Regions from separate parts of the Homo sapiens genome. Here all the other regions are linked to region 4. The links are contacts of gene promoters, found by promoter capture Hi-C in human tissues and cell types (Jung and others, 2019). All regions are on one chromosome and are shown on one strand. The core of a region is centred on a gene start or on the middle of the fragment in contact, and the rest is flanking DNA. Distances in the headings are between cores, read along the strand shown. Region 1 overlaps WIPF2 (WAS/WASL interacting protein family member 2). Region 2 holds the start of GJD3 (gap junction protein delta 3). Region 3 has its middle 3.5 kb from the start of NR1D1. Region 4 holds the start of EIF1 (eukaryotic translation initiation factor 1).

Region 1 (2,700 bases), core at 39-2,538, 1.4 Mb before region 4:
CACTAATGAGTCAGCCCCTGAGCTGCCACAGAGACACAATTCTTTGCATAGGAAGACACCAGGGCCTGTCAGAGGCCTAGCACCTCCTCCACCCACCTCGGCCTCCCCATCTTTACTGAGTAATAGGCCACCTCCCCCAGCCCGAGACCCTCCCAGTCGGGGAGCAGGTAAGTGCTTGGAAGCACCTTTTTCCCTATCATGCTGTGAGTTGATTTTATCTTTCCCCAGAGCACTCCTTGAAGACAGTAATTCGTTTATTCACTCAGTGGGTTTATTGAGTACCTTTTTATGTGTCAGGTCTGTTGGTAGGGAAATAGCAATAAATAGAAAAGACAAAAAAATTTGACAGTCAAACTAGTAAAATATATAAATACATAGTATGCAGTATGCTTTAGAGAATTACAAAGCAGAGGAGAGGAATAAGATATACTGGGGCGGAGGTCGGGATGATGATATCTTTAATTGGAGGAGTGGGGAGAGAGTCAGGACAGTCCTTACTGATACGGTGAAAATTTGACAAAGACCTTAAGAAAGTGACGAGTAAGCTTAGTAGTTATCTAGGAGAACAGCTGTTGCAGGCAGTGGGAACAACAAATGCAGAGGCCATAAGGCAGAAGTATTCTTGAAACATTTTGGGGACAGCAAGGGGGCCATTGTGGCAAGACTACAAAGAGTGAGGGGAGGGAAGAGTGGTAGGACTTGGAGGTTGGAAAGCTGGAGCTGCAGGGGAGAGCGCACTGCAGGATTTTGCAAAGACCTTGGATTTAACTGTGTGAGATGGGAAGCCACTGGAGGGTTTTAAACAGAGAAGTAGTATGATTTGATTCACCTTTTAAAAAGATCATTAACTCCTATGTTGAGAACAGACCGCAGGAGGACAAAGGTGACAAAAGGAGACCAGTTACTGGGCTGTTGCAGTAAACGGCCAGATGGTTAGGACTACTGTGAATTTGTGGGAAGATAGGTGTTCAGTTTGAGACAAGTTTGAGATGCCTGTTAGGTAATCAAGAAGAGACAATGAATTGGTAATTGGCTATCAGACTCCAAAGTTGAGGGGAGAGGTTTCGGCTAGAGAGATACATTTGAATGGTGTTGAAAACCACATGCTGGATGAAGTCACCTAAGGAGTGAATATAGATAAGAAGAGGCCTAGGAGGCTGAGGCAGGAGAATCGCTTGAACTCAGGAGGCAGAGGTTGCAGTGAGCCGAGATCACGCCACTGCACTCCAGCCTGGGCGACAGAGTGACAGTCCATCTCAAAAAAAAAAAAAAAAAAAATGAGGGCTGAGCCCTCGCCCTCCTACATTAGAGGCAAAAGAGATGAAGAATACCCAGCAGAGGAAACAGAAAAGCTTCTAGTGAGGATGGAAGGAGAAAAACCAAGAATGTGATGGAAAAACTCCAAGGTAGAGTAAGTGGTCAGCTGTGCCCAGTGCTGCAGATGGGTCAGGTAAGTTAAAGACCAAGAACTGGCATTGGTCTTAGTATCATGGGACCCTTTTGAGTAGTTTCAGTGGAGTGGTGGAGGGTGAAAGTGAAAGCTTAATTGGAGTGGGTTCAAGAATGCAGGAATAGGAGGAGAGAAATTGGAGATAGCAATATAGAAATCTCTTAAAGAGTTCGCTGTAAAGTCCAGGAGAGAGGGGTGAAGATAAGTGAAGTGATTGTTGGACGAAGATGTGGGGTTGAGAGTTGTTTTTTTCCCATCCCAAGATGGGAGACCTATTTGTATGCTGATGGAATGAGTAGCATGAAACTTAGGAGAGAGGGAAAAAATTGAATCAGAAGAGAGGGAACAGATTGCCTGAATAATGACCTGGAGGAGGCCAGAGAAAAGAGAATGTGATCGATAGATAAAAAGGGTTGGCCTTAGATAGGAACATAGTTCTTCCATAGTAACAAGAGGGGAGGCAGAGCATATAGGCTTAGAAGCAAGTGGGTAGGTGGGTGTAGTGGTAGAAGCATGTGGAAAGTTTATTCTAATTTGCTTCTGTTTTCTCAGTGAAATGGAAAGCAAGAGCATCAGCTGTGATTGAGGCGAGGGAAGGAGAAGGAGAGTTGAGGAGAGAGAAGAGGCATGAAATGGTCATCTGGAGCGTGGGAGTGTGGGTGGACTAGGGAAGTGTGCTCAGATAGGCAACCACGCGAAGGGCCCACTTGAGATTATGGGCCATACATTTCATGTGAGATTAATTAGTCTCATGTGTTCAGTTGTGATTTGCAGGTACAGAAAAAGAGTAGAGCTGTGTTTAACCAGCGTTAGCATGTTTTAGGCATGTGCGACTCTAAGGGAGAGTGGGGCAGGAAGGGAAGGGTGTATGTGAGGGAGTGATTGCAATAATGGAGCCTAAGCTGGGTGAGGAGGGAATTTAGGAACCCTGGAAAAAGAAGAGGTTGTGTAATCTCGTTATAATTAGCATAACTGAAATTTTAGAGTGAGGGAGACCGTGACAGCTCTCTGGGGCCTTATTGGACATGGGAATTTTGGCTCCCATATCGTTGTATCATTAGACTTTGAGACATACCCTCCACAAACAGCTTCTTGGCCTTTATTTATTTATTTGTTTGTTTGTGTTTTGAGACAGAGCCTTGCTCTTTCGCCCAGGCTGGAGTGCAGTGGTGCAATCTCTGCTCATTGCAACCTCTTCCTCCCAGGTTCAAGTGATTGTTGTGTCTCAGCCTCCTGACTAGCTGGAATTA
Region 2 (2,700 bases), core at 49-2,548, 1.3 Mb before region 4:
GCGCACGGCGCGCACTGGGCCTCGGGCAGTCCGGGGGCGCACTGCGCCGCCGCCTCAGCGCCGCCCGCCTCCTTGCCTGCCCGGTGCATGGAGTAGACGACGAACAGCACCGGGGGCGCCGAGAGCAGCAGGATGTGGAAGAGCCAGAAGCGGTAGTGGGAGACCGGGAAGGCGCGGTCGTAGCAGGTCTGGCGACAGCCCGGCTGCAGCGTGTTGCACACGAACTCCTCTTGCTCGTCCTCGAACACGGCGCCGCCCACCGTGGCCAGCACCAGGATGCGGAAGATCAGCATGACCACCAGCCAGAGGCGGCCCACGAGCGGCGACTGCAGCTGCACGGCGTCCAGCAGCGAGCCCAGGAACGCCCACTCCCCCATGGCGCTGGGGACGCGGGGCGGGGAGTCAGGGGATGGGGCAAGTCAGGGACCCCTGCCCCTTCCAAGCCTATCGGGGTGGGGTCCGTTGGACCTTCTCTGACTTCAGGGTGAGTCGTGAGGTAGGAGAGGCCCGGGTTTAGCGATGAGACCAGTATGAAACGGAGGGCCACGGGAGGGCCCGAGGGGAGCAGGCGACGCTCAGCTATGGGTTACCTTCTCTTTGGGACCGATGGGTGCTGGGGAGGATCCCCCATTTGCATTTTAGCCGCACCCCCTGAGCCGTCTCCGTTCGACCCTGGGATCCTCCAGATCCCAGATTCTTAGGAAGGACCTTGGAGATCAGCTGGACCAGCCCCTGACTTGCCTGGTTTCGGAAGCGGAAACCCAGCGGTGCCCTTAGCTGTCAAGGATGCTGTGGGAAGAGTGGAGCCTCGAACCCGAGACGCTAGACCCAATTTGGTGCCCATGGGAGGAGTGGGAGTGGCAGAGGCAGCGAGACCACTCCTTTCTTGGCCCACCATTTCTCTCACCATTTTTACTGCAGTGAACTCCTCTCAGGGTGGGGGGCTGGTACAGAGGCAACTCCGCTTTCATAACTCTCACAGGGTCCTTTGTCGGAGGTGTCCCTGCCCTCCTACCCCAGCGTGGTGGGAGTGCGACGCCAGGCTTCTCCCTCCTCCCTGGCCTCCTGTGCCTCCAGCCTCCACATCTCCTGAGATCCTCCCCACCCCACACTTACACAGGTCCCCACACGCCCCTGGTGCCCCTAAACCGCCACCCAACCCCACTCACCCTGGGGCCGGGACTGGGGTGTCAGAGCTGAGCCAGGGACCTTGGGAGGTGGCTGGGACCGGCGCCTCCTGCTCCCTCTTTCATTTTCCCTTTCGGATTTGGCCAGGATGGAGGACAGGACAGGATGGCTGAGAGGGGCTAGCGCTCCCCCTTCTCTTAAAGGAACAGGGTGACCCTGCTGGCTGGCTCCGCCCTTGGGAACAGGCACGGACCACGCCCCTTGCTGGGCTCTGTGGCCCTCACTCTTTAGCTAAATTTCCATCTGGAAATGGGGGAGGGGGGTAACCAGAGCCACATCCTTTATCGAGGAAGCTGGGGGATTCCTAGAAGCCCTTCCCAGACAGACCCTCAGTCTGGAGCCTAGATCCACTACGCACTAACCATGCCCTGTGAAGATGGTCTTCGGGGACAGAGGGAGGTTTGGTGCTGGAGTTTAAGGGGCAGCAAACATCTAACAGCTTCTGGTTCCAGCTCTGCCACCGCTCACCTTGGACAAATCATTCGGCGGTACTGAGCCAGGCTTTCCTGCCTTGTCAACAAAGGCGGCCAGTCCAGCTGACCCCCAAGTTTCCTTCCAGCTTTACATCTTTTTTGGAACGGGGTCTCTCTACATAGCCCAGGTCGATCTTGAACTCCTGGCTTCAAGTGATCCTCACACCTTAGCCTCCTGAGTAGCTGGGATTCTCTACTTCTTAATATTGAATTCCCAACCATATTACAGAGAACCAAAAAAACCCTTGTGCCTGCAAAAAAAAAAAAAAAAAAAAAAATCCCATATGGAAAACCATTAAAATATCCCAAGTGCCTGGCTTTGATAGTTAAATAAAATCTTTGGTTTCCTTCCCACTTTTCTGTTATTTCCAGCTTTACTATAATGAACATGTTATTTATTTATTTATTTTTAATTTGTTTGTTTTGAGATGGAGTCTAGCTCTGTCGCCCAGGCTGGAGTGCAGTGGCATGATCTTGGCTGAATGCAACCTCCGCCTCCCGGGTTCAAGCGATTCTCCTGCCTCAGCCTCCCCAGTAGCTGGGATTACAGGTGTGCGCCACCACGCCCGGCTAATTTTTGTATTTTTAGTAGAGGTGGGGTTTCGCCATGTTGACCAGGCTGATCTCGAACTCTTGACCTCAAACAATCCGCCTATCTCAGCCTCCCAAAGTGCCGGGATTACAGGCGTGAGCTACCACACCCGGCCTAACATGTTATTTTATTATTTATTTATTTATTTATTTATTGAGACAGAGTTTTGCTCTTGTTGCCCAGGCTGGAGTGCAGTGGTGTGATCTCAGCTCACCGCAACCTCCTCCTCCCGGGTTCAAGCGATTCTCCTGCCTCAGCCTCCTGAATAGCTGGGATTACAGGCATGTGCCACCATGCCCAGCTAATTTTGTATTTTTAATAGAGACAGGATCTCTCCATGTTGGTCAGGCTGGTCTCGAAATCCTGACCTCAGGTGATCCACCTGCCTCGGCCTCCCAAAGTGCTGGGATTACAGGCTTGAGTCACCGCGCCCGGCCTCATGTTATT
Region 3 (2,700 bases), core at 178-2,677, 1.6 Mb before region 4:
TGCTTGAACCCGGGAGGCAGAGGTTGCAGTGACCTGAGATCGCGCCAGTGCACTCCAGCATGGGCAACAAGACCGAAACTCCATCTCAAAAAAAGAAAAAAAAAAAAAGAATAATAATATGAGCACAGGAGTAAACTGGGTAGTGAGGACAGTGAGGTTGACTGCAGGAGCTTGACCACTCACCCTCTGACTCCTTGTAGAAGATGAGCTTCCTGGAATGGGCTAGGCTTTAGCTTTGTTCTCCTGCTCCCAAGAAAAGTGGGAGAGAGAGGGCAGTGGGCTCTTCTCTGGCCCTTTGGCCCAGAGTTGGGAAGCTGCAGCAGAGTGTGGGAGCAACTGGGAGGGGCTAAAACAAACAAGGAAAGAGGCTTTTCAGGAAAACTTGGTTCTCAGCCTCCACCCCCTCTCCCTCCACCCTCTGGGCTCTGGAGGGAAAGCTAGGAGGTGAATTGCCCTGTCCTGCCCTTGCCTGCTCTCTGTGACCTTGACTCCAAGTCAGAGCCAGGGCCAGAGCCCAGGTGTCTGTCAGGGCTGGACTCAAAATCAGGACCCCTGGCGTGCATCTAGCTCCCCACAGCACAGCACCACCACTAGCACCCTCCCTTTACTTGGCCGGGGTCCTCCCCAAGGCCCACAGCTCTGTTTGCTGCTGTGGAGGTCCTACCCACCCCCTGTATACTTGCTGGATGTTTGTTCTTCTAGGAGTGGGAGCTGGGGTGGGTCAAGACTCCTCGCCTGCTGCAATCAGTGAGAAGGAGGAGGGAGCAGAGGTAGAGAGAGCTGAAATTCAGTCAGCCTGACTCTCCTCTTGGCAAAACCTGGGTGGTTCTGCAGTCTGTGTGTGGTGTGAAGGCAGAGGCTGGGAGGGAGGGGGCAAAGGAGAGGGGTTACCCCCTTGCTCCTTCCTTCCTTCCTTTCCATTTCTTATAGGGCCCTTCCTTTTCTCCCTCACAAGTAATTCGGGTGTCTTTCTTCTACAGCTGGTGAGAGGAGTACAGAATGAAAAGGCAGGGTTCTCTCTTGGCCCCAGAAGCTTCTAGTCAGTCTGTGTACCCTGCTCCTTTCTCTGTCAGCAGCTGCTGGGAGAAGGGCAGAAACTCTGAGACCCAAAGCCACCAAAGGGAGGGGGGAAAGGCTGGGTTGTCTGGCTCTGGGTGATTCGGAGTAGAATCTTGGTTTCTCTTTGACCTCAACCTTGGCTGTAAGACCTTAAGACAACAGGTGTATCTCAACACAACCTTCCTCACCTATCCCTCCAGCTGGACATTGCTGTTCACTTCTTTTTTTTTTTGAGACAGAGTCCCACTCTATCGCCCAGGCTGGAGTGCAGTGGCTCACTGCAACCTCCACCTTCCGGGTTTAAGCCATTCTCCTGTCTCAGCGTCCCAAGTTGCTGGGACTGCAGGAGCACGCCACAATGCCTGGCTAATTTTTTTTATATTTTTAGTAGAGATGGGGTTTCACCATATTAGTCAGGCTGGTCTTGAACTCCTGACCTAAGGTGATCCACCCACCTCAGCCTCCCAAAGTGCTGGGATAGCAGGCGTGAGCCACCATGCCCGGCCTGCTGTTCACTTCTACACACACACACACACACCCCATTTCTCCCATAGCCCAGTTCAACTCAAGAAAGCACTTAACTCTTCATAAATAGTACTCAGATTGGATCCAGGTAGAAAAGATGCATATTCACAACCTGGTACAGCAAGGCACTGCCCTGGTTCTGCATACACTTCCACTTGGATTCCCAAGTCTGGGATTCTGGGGACGAACCTTCCCATTAGGGGCAGTGTTGGATCCTGCCTGTGTGTTTCCAAATATGTCTTTAATTTTCCTTGATTTATTTGGACTGCAGAGGACAGCAGACACAGAGGAGAAGAAGGAAAGGTATTGAGAACACTAAGCTCTGGTCAGTTATGTATGTGTGCACGTGTGTGTGTGTGTGTGTGTGATTCTATGACTATGAGTGAGACTGCATGTTTGTGTGTGAGTGTGAATGCTGTGTGTGTGGGTGTGCATGTTTGATCTGAGATCTGTTCTCCCTGTCAGTAGGTTGTTCTGGGTAACAGGGCAACACCCTGTGCAAATTCTGGGTGGCCTAAATCTTGGGCCAACTGCTTGACTGACTGACTGACTGACTGACTGACTGACTGAGGGTGGGTCCTTGCTGGAAACAGGTCAGGCTTCTGTAGATGCCTTCCCATCCCCCTCCTTTCTCACCAAGAAACCATTGCCCAGAGTAGAAACCTGTCTGCCCAGGTGATGCAAACCTGGTATAGAAATGCTGGGGATGCCCCTGAATCAGGGAACCAGCCATGTGCCTGGGAGAGACTCACTCCCTGCCCTCCTAAATCCTTTTCTTTGTCTCTAAAAGGCCAGCTATCTTTCCCAACCCCACCCAAAGCCTGGATGTTTTGGGGAGAACTTTAAGAACATGCCACAGGAAGGACAGAGTCTGAGCTAACTTGTTTCTCAGTGTGGTGGGGGGAGGGGGATGGAGAAAGCAAGGGCGAGGCATGAGCCAGGGCTGGGTTCCATGGATGTGTTTTGCCTCAGATTCTATCTTTACCTCACTACTGCTTTTTCCAAGGAAAGGAAACCATAAATATGTATTAAGTACCAACCGTATGCCAGGCACTGTGCAAAGTGTTTTGTACACATTATCTCATTTAATATTCACAACAACCCTATGCTGTAGGT
Region 4 (2,700 bases), core at 87-2,586:
ATCACCTGAGGTCAGGAGTTCAAGACCAGCCTGGCCAACATGGTGAAAACCCATCTCTACTAAAAATATTTTTAAAAAACTAGCCGGGCGTGGTGGTGGATGCCTGTAACCCCAACTACTCGGGAGGCTGAGGCAGAAGAATTGCTTGAACCCAGGAGACGGAGGTTACAGTGAGCCGACACAGTGCCACTGCACTCCAGCCTCGGCGACAAAGTGAGACTCTGTCTCAAAAAAAAAATCAATTTATTGGCAATATTTAAAAATCAAGAGATTTTATGTAAACACCTGGATTTCCTGGCACTCTTGAAAAAGATCTAGCACAATGGGCTGGAGGTGAGCGGCCACTGCAGCCCGTAGTTCTTACTCCAGCCCCCAGTCCACCCCATTACATCACACTTGGCTGTTTGCACTCCTTGATCCTACTTACCTGCCTATCCCCGGAGGCCTTTGAGTCTAAAATTCCTGGTCTCTTTTCACCACTCTACTTACCCCTACAACTGAGTGTTGAAATAAATAAACTGAAAGCAAGAAAGGTTGACTGTTTTGAAGGAAATATTTCATCTAAACTCTAGGAAGGCTCTACTCCACACAAGCTGTGCCACATGAAGGACGCCCTCTGGTGCCAGAATTATTCTCGGGGGGGCCCAGAACCAGTTACTATACCTTGAACTCATGCCAATGAGCTGGGCACACTTTTTCCTTAGATGGATTAATCTAATCTAAATGAAAATTTTAGATCGGATTAACCCACTTTAGAATAAATCTAAATGGCAATCTAAATTATGCGGTTACCGTTTTGATTATATTATTGTATGTTGATTAATCAAAGTGCCGCCCTAAATCCCGCTGTGACTCCGTGGGTAGTAGGGTGGGTAGGTAGGTGGGTTTGACACAACGGGGATTTCTCGTGTTTGGGAGGCTCATCATCTAAATCCTCTCTAAGGAGTGTTCATTTACCATATGAAACTCCCCTTTTCGAGAAGACAGGGATGCAACAGGGTCAAGAAGGTGGAACGTACCAAAGGACACAGTGCGTAGGCGCGCTCGAAACCTGGGCCGGTATTCTCGGCACCCAGACACCGTCCACTCGCACTGCGCAGGCTCCGAGACAGATCAAGCTTTCCCTCCCCCTCCCAGCTCTCCTAGAGTCAAGAGGACGCCCTCCTGCCGCAGACTTCCTGCGCAAGCGCCATCCCATGTCCCCGCCTCCAAACCAATTGGAAGCGGCGCCGCCTGGGCGCTTGGGGCACGACGCTGTGGGTGGGGTCAGGACGTGAGGGCAGCGCGCTGGCGTCAGAGGCGCGGCTATATAACTAAACACAGGCACCGCCCCTCTGCCCCAGTCACTGAGCCGCCGCCGAGGATTCAGCAGCCTCCCCCTTGAGCCCCCTCGCTTCCCGACGTTCCGTTCCCCCCTGCCCGCCTTCTCCCGCCACCGCCGCCGCCGCCTTCCGCAGGCCGTTTCCACCGAGGAAAAGGAATCGTATCGTATGTCCGCTATCCAGAACCTCCACTCTTTCGGTAAGCTATGGGAAAGGTCGCGGGCCCGGGTGGGGCAGCGGGGCCTTCCGGGCCCGGAGACGTGTTCCGGGAAGTTGCCAAGCGCTCCGGGCCTTCGTAAGCTCGGGCAGGGGAAACTTGACCAGGGTCGCAGGGCAGCGGGATCAAGGCCTGGGCCCCGGGGTCGGACCCTGAGCGCGACCGGAAGGAGCAGGCGGTAGGTCAGCCCTTGGGCGGGCCCGGCGTCTCAGTGGCGCATTTACTAATGGCTCCTGGGCCTCCTCGGGCCACACCCGCCCCTCCCGTCACCATTGCGTCACGTCCGTTACGTCACCACCCGTTGTCACGGATCCGGAGGGAAAGGCGGTGCCAGCCCTAAGTGGCAAGCGGGTGCACCAATGGGGGTGGGAGGCTTAGCCCCGCCTCGGGAGCTCGGGTTCCGGCGGGTTGCATCAGCTGGGTGGGGCACCGCCTGGCAGCCCGGACTCCCCCGACATGTGATCGGCTTCCCAGGGAGGGCGGGAGGCCCGGGCGTTCCCCGAGCCTGGGGAAGCTGGCCGTCCCGGACTGACCTGCTCGGGGAGAGCCAGCAAAGGACACATTCGGCCTGGCCCAAGCCCTGACGATTTCAGTGTTGTTTTCTGCACGCGCAAAACACCTGGGGACCGAGGGGATGGCAGTGGCATCCTATCTTTGACAGCTCTGAACGAGCTTAACCTTTTTTTTCAGACCCCTTTGCTGATGCAAGTAAGGGTGATGACCTGCTTCCTGCTGGCACTGAGGATTATATCCATATAAGAATTCAACAGAGAAACGGCAGGAAGACCCTTACTACTGTCCAAGGGATCGCTGATGATTACGATAAAAAGAAACTAGTGAAGGCGTTTAAGAAAGTAGGTCTTCAGTGAGATTTTGGGAAAGTCATAATGGATTTGTCCACAAGGGGGTGCCAGCTGTGTTGTATGTATTGTTAGCGGAAGGGGTGATAAATGCGTTCATGCTCTTGCTAGGCCTAATTCGTTTTCCTTTGTGCTTGCAGAAGTTTGCCTGCAATGGTACTGTAATTGAGCATCCGGAATATGGAGAAGTAATTCAGCTACAGGGTGACCAACGCAAGAACATATGCCAGTTCCTCGTAGAGGTGAGTTCAGTCACTACTTGATTTGTGCCTCTCTGCTGGCAAATCTCAGATCCTGTCTG

What was found. The method cuts DNA at HindIII sites, captures the fragments that hold promoters and counts their contacts. A contact is called where the count stands out against the background at its distance.
Region 1: a fragment that was not itself captured here is called in contact with the fragment with the promoter of EIF1 in region 4 in 1 of the 25 tissues and cell types used here (dorsolateral prefrontal cortex).
Region 2: the fragment with the promoter of GJD3 here is called in contact with the fragment with the promoter of EIF1 in region 4 in 1 of the 25 tissues and cell types used here (heart right ventricle).
Region 3: a fragment that was not itself captured here is called in contact with the fragment with the promoter of EIF1 in region 4 in 1 of the 25 tissues and cell types used here (dorsolateral prefrontal cortex).

Annotation. Positions count from the first base shown.
Region 1 is chr17:40,264,980-40,267,679 of GRCh38, forward strand. It overlaps WIPF2 (WAS/WASL interacting protein family member 2), which reads left to right. Exons shown (of 8, transcript NM_133264.5): 5 at 1-167. Among named protein-coding and RNA genes, the nearest start is that of CDC6, 22 kb to the right of the region's middle. The HindIII fragment of the contact is 4,401 bases long and covers 1-2,700 here.
Region 2 is chr17:40,363,439-40,366,138 of GRCh38, forward strand. It overlaps GJD3 (gap junction protein delta 3), which reads right to left and starts at 1,299. Exons shown (of 1, transcript NM_152219.4): 1 at 1-1,299. The coding sequence starts at 377. GJD3-AS1 (GJD3 antisense RNA 1) reads left to right here. Exons shown (of 1, transcript NR_186704.1): 1 at 1-1,997. The HindIII fragment of the contact is 8,775 bases long and covers 1-1,538 here.
Region 3 is chr17:40,102,782-40,105,481 of GRCh38, forward strand. No RefSeq gene overlaps it. Among named protein-coding and RNA genes, the nearest start is that of NR1D1, 3.5 kb to the left of the region's middle. RefSeq lists an enhancer at 181-1,060. The HindIII fragment of the contact is 5,880 bases long and covers 1-2,700 here.
Region 4 is chr17:41,687,549-41,690,248 of GRCh38, forward strand. It overlaps EIF1 (eukaryotic translation initiation factor 1), which reads left to right and starts at 1,337. Exons shown (of 4, transcript NM_005801.4): 1 at 1,337-1,521; 2 at 2,230-2,393; 3 at 2,540-2,641. The coding sequence starts at 1,491. RefSeq lists enhancers at 1,038-1,946, 1,932-2,021, 1,947-2,700 and a silencer at 1,162-1,551. The HindIII fragment of the contact is 6,244 bases long and covers 1-2,700 here.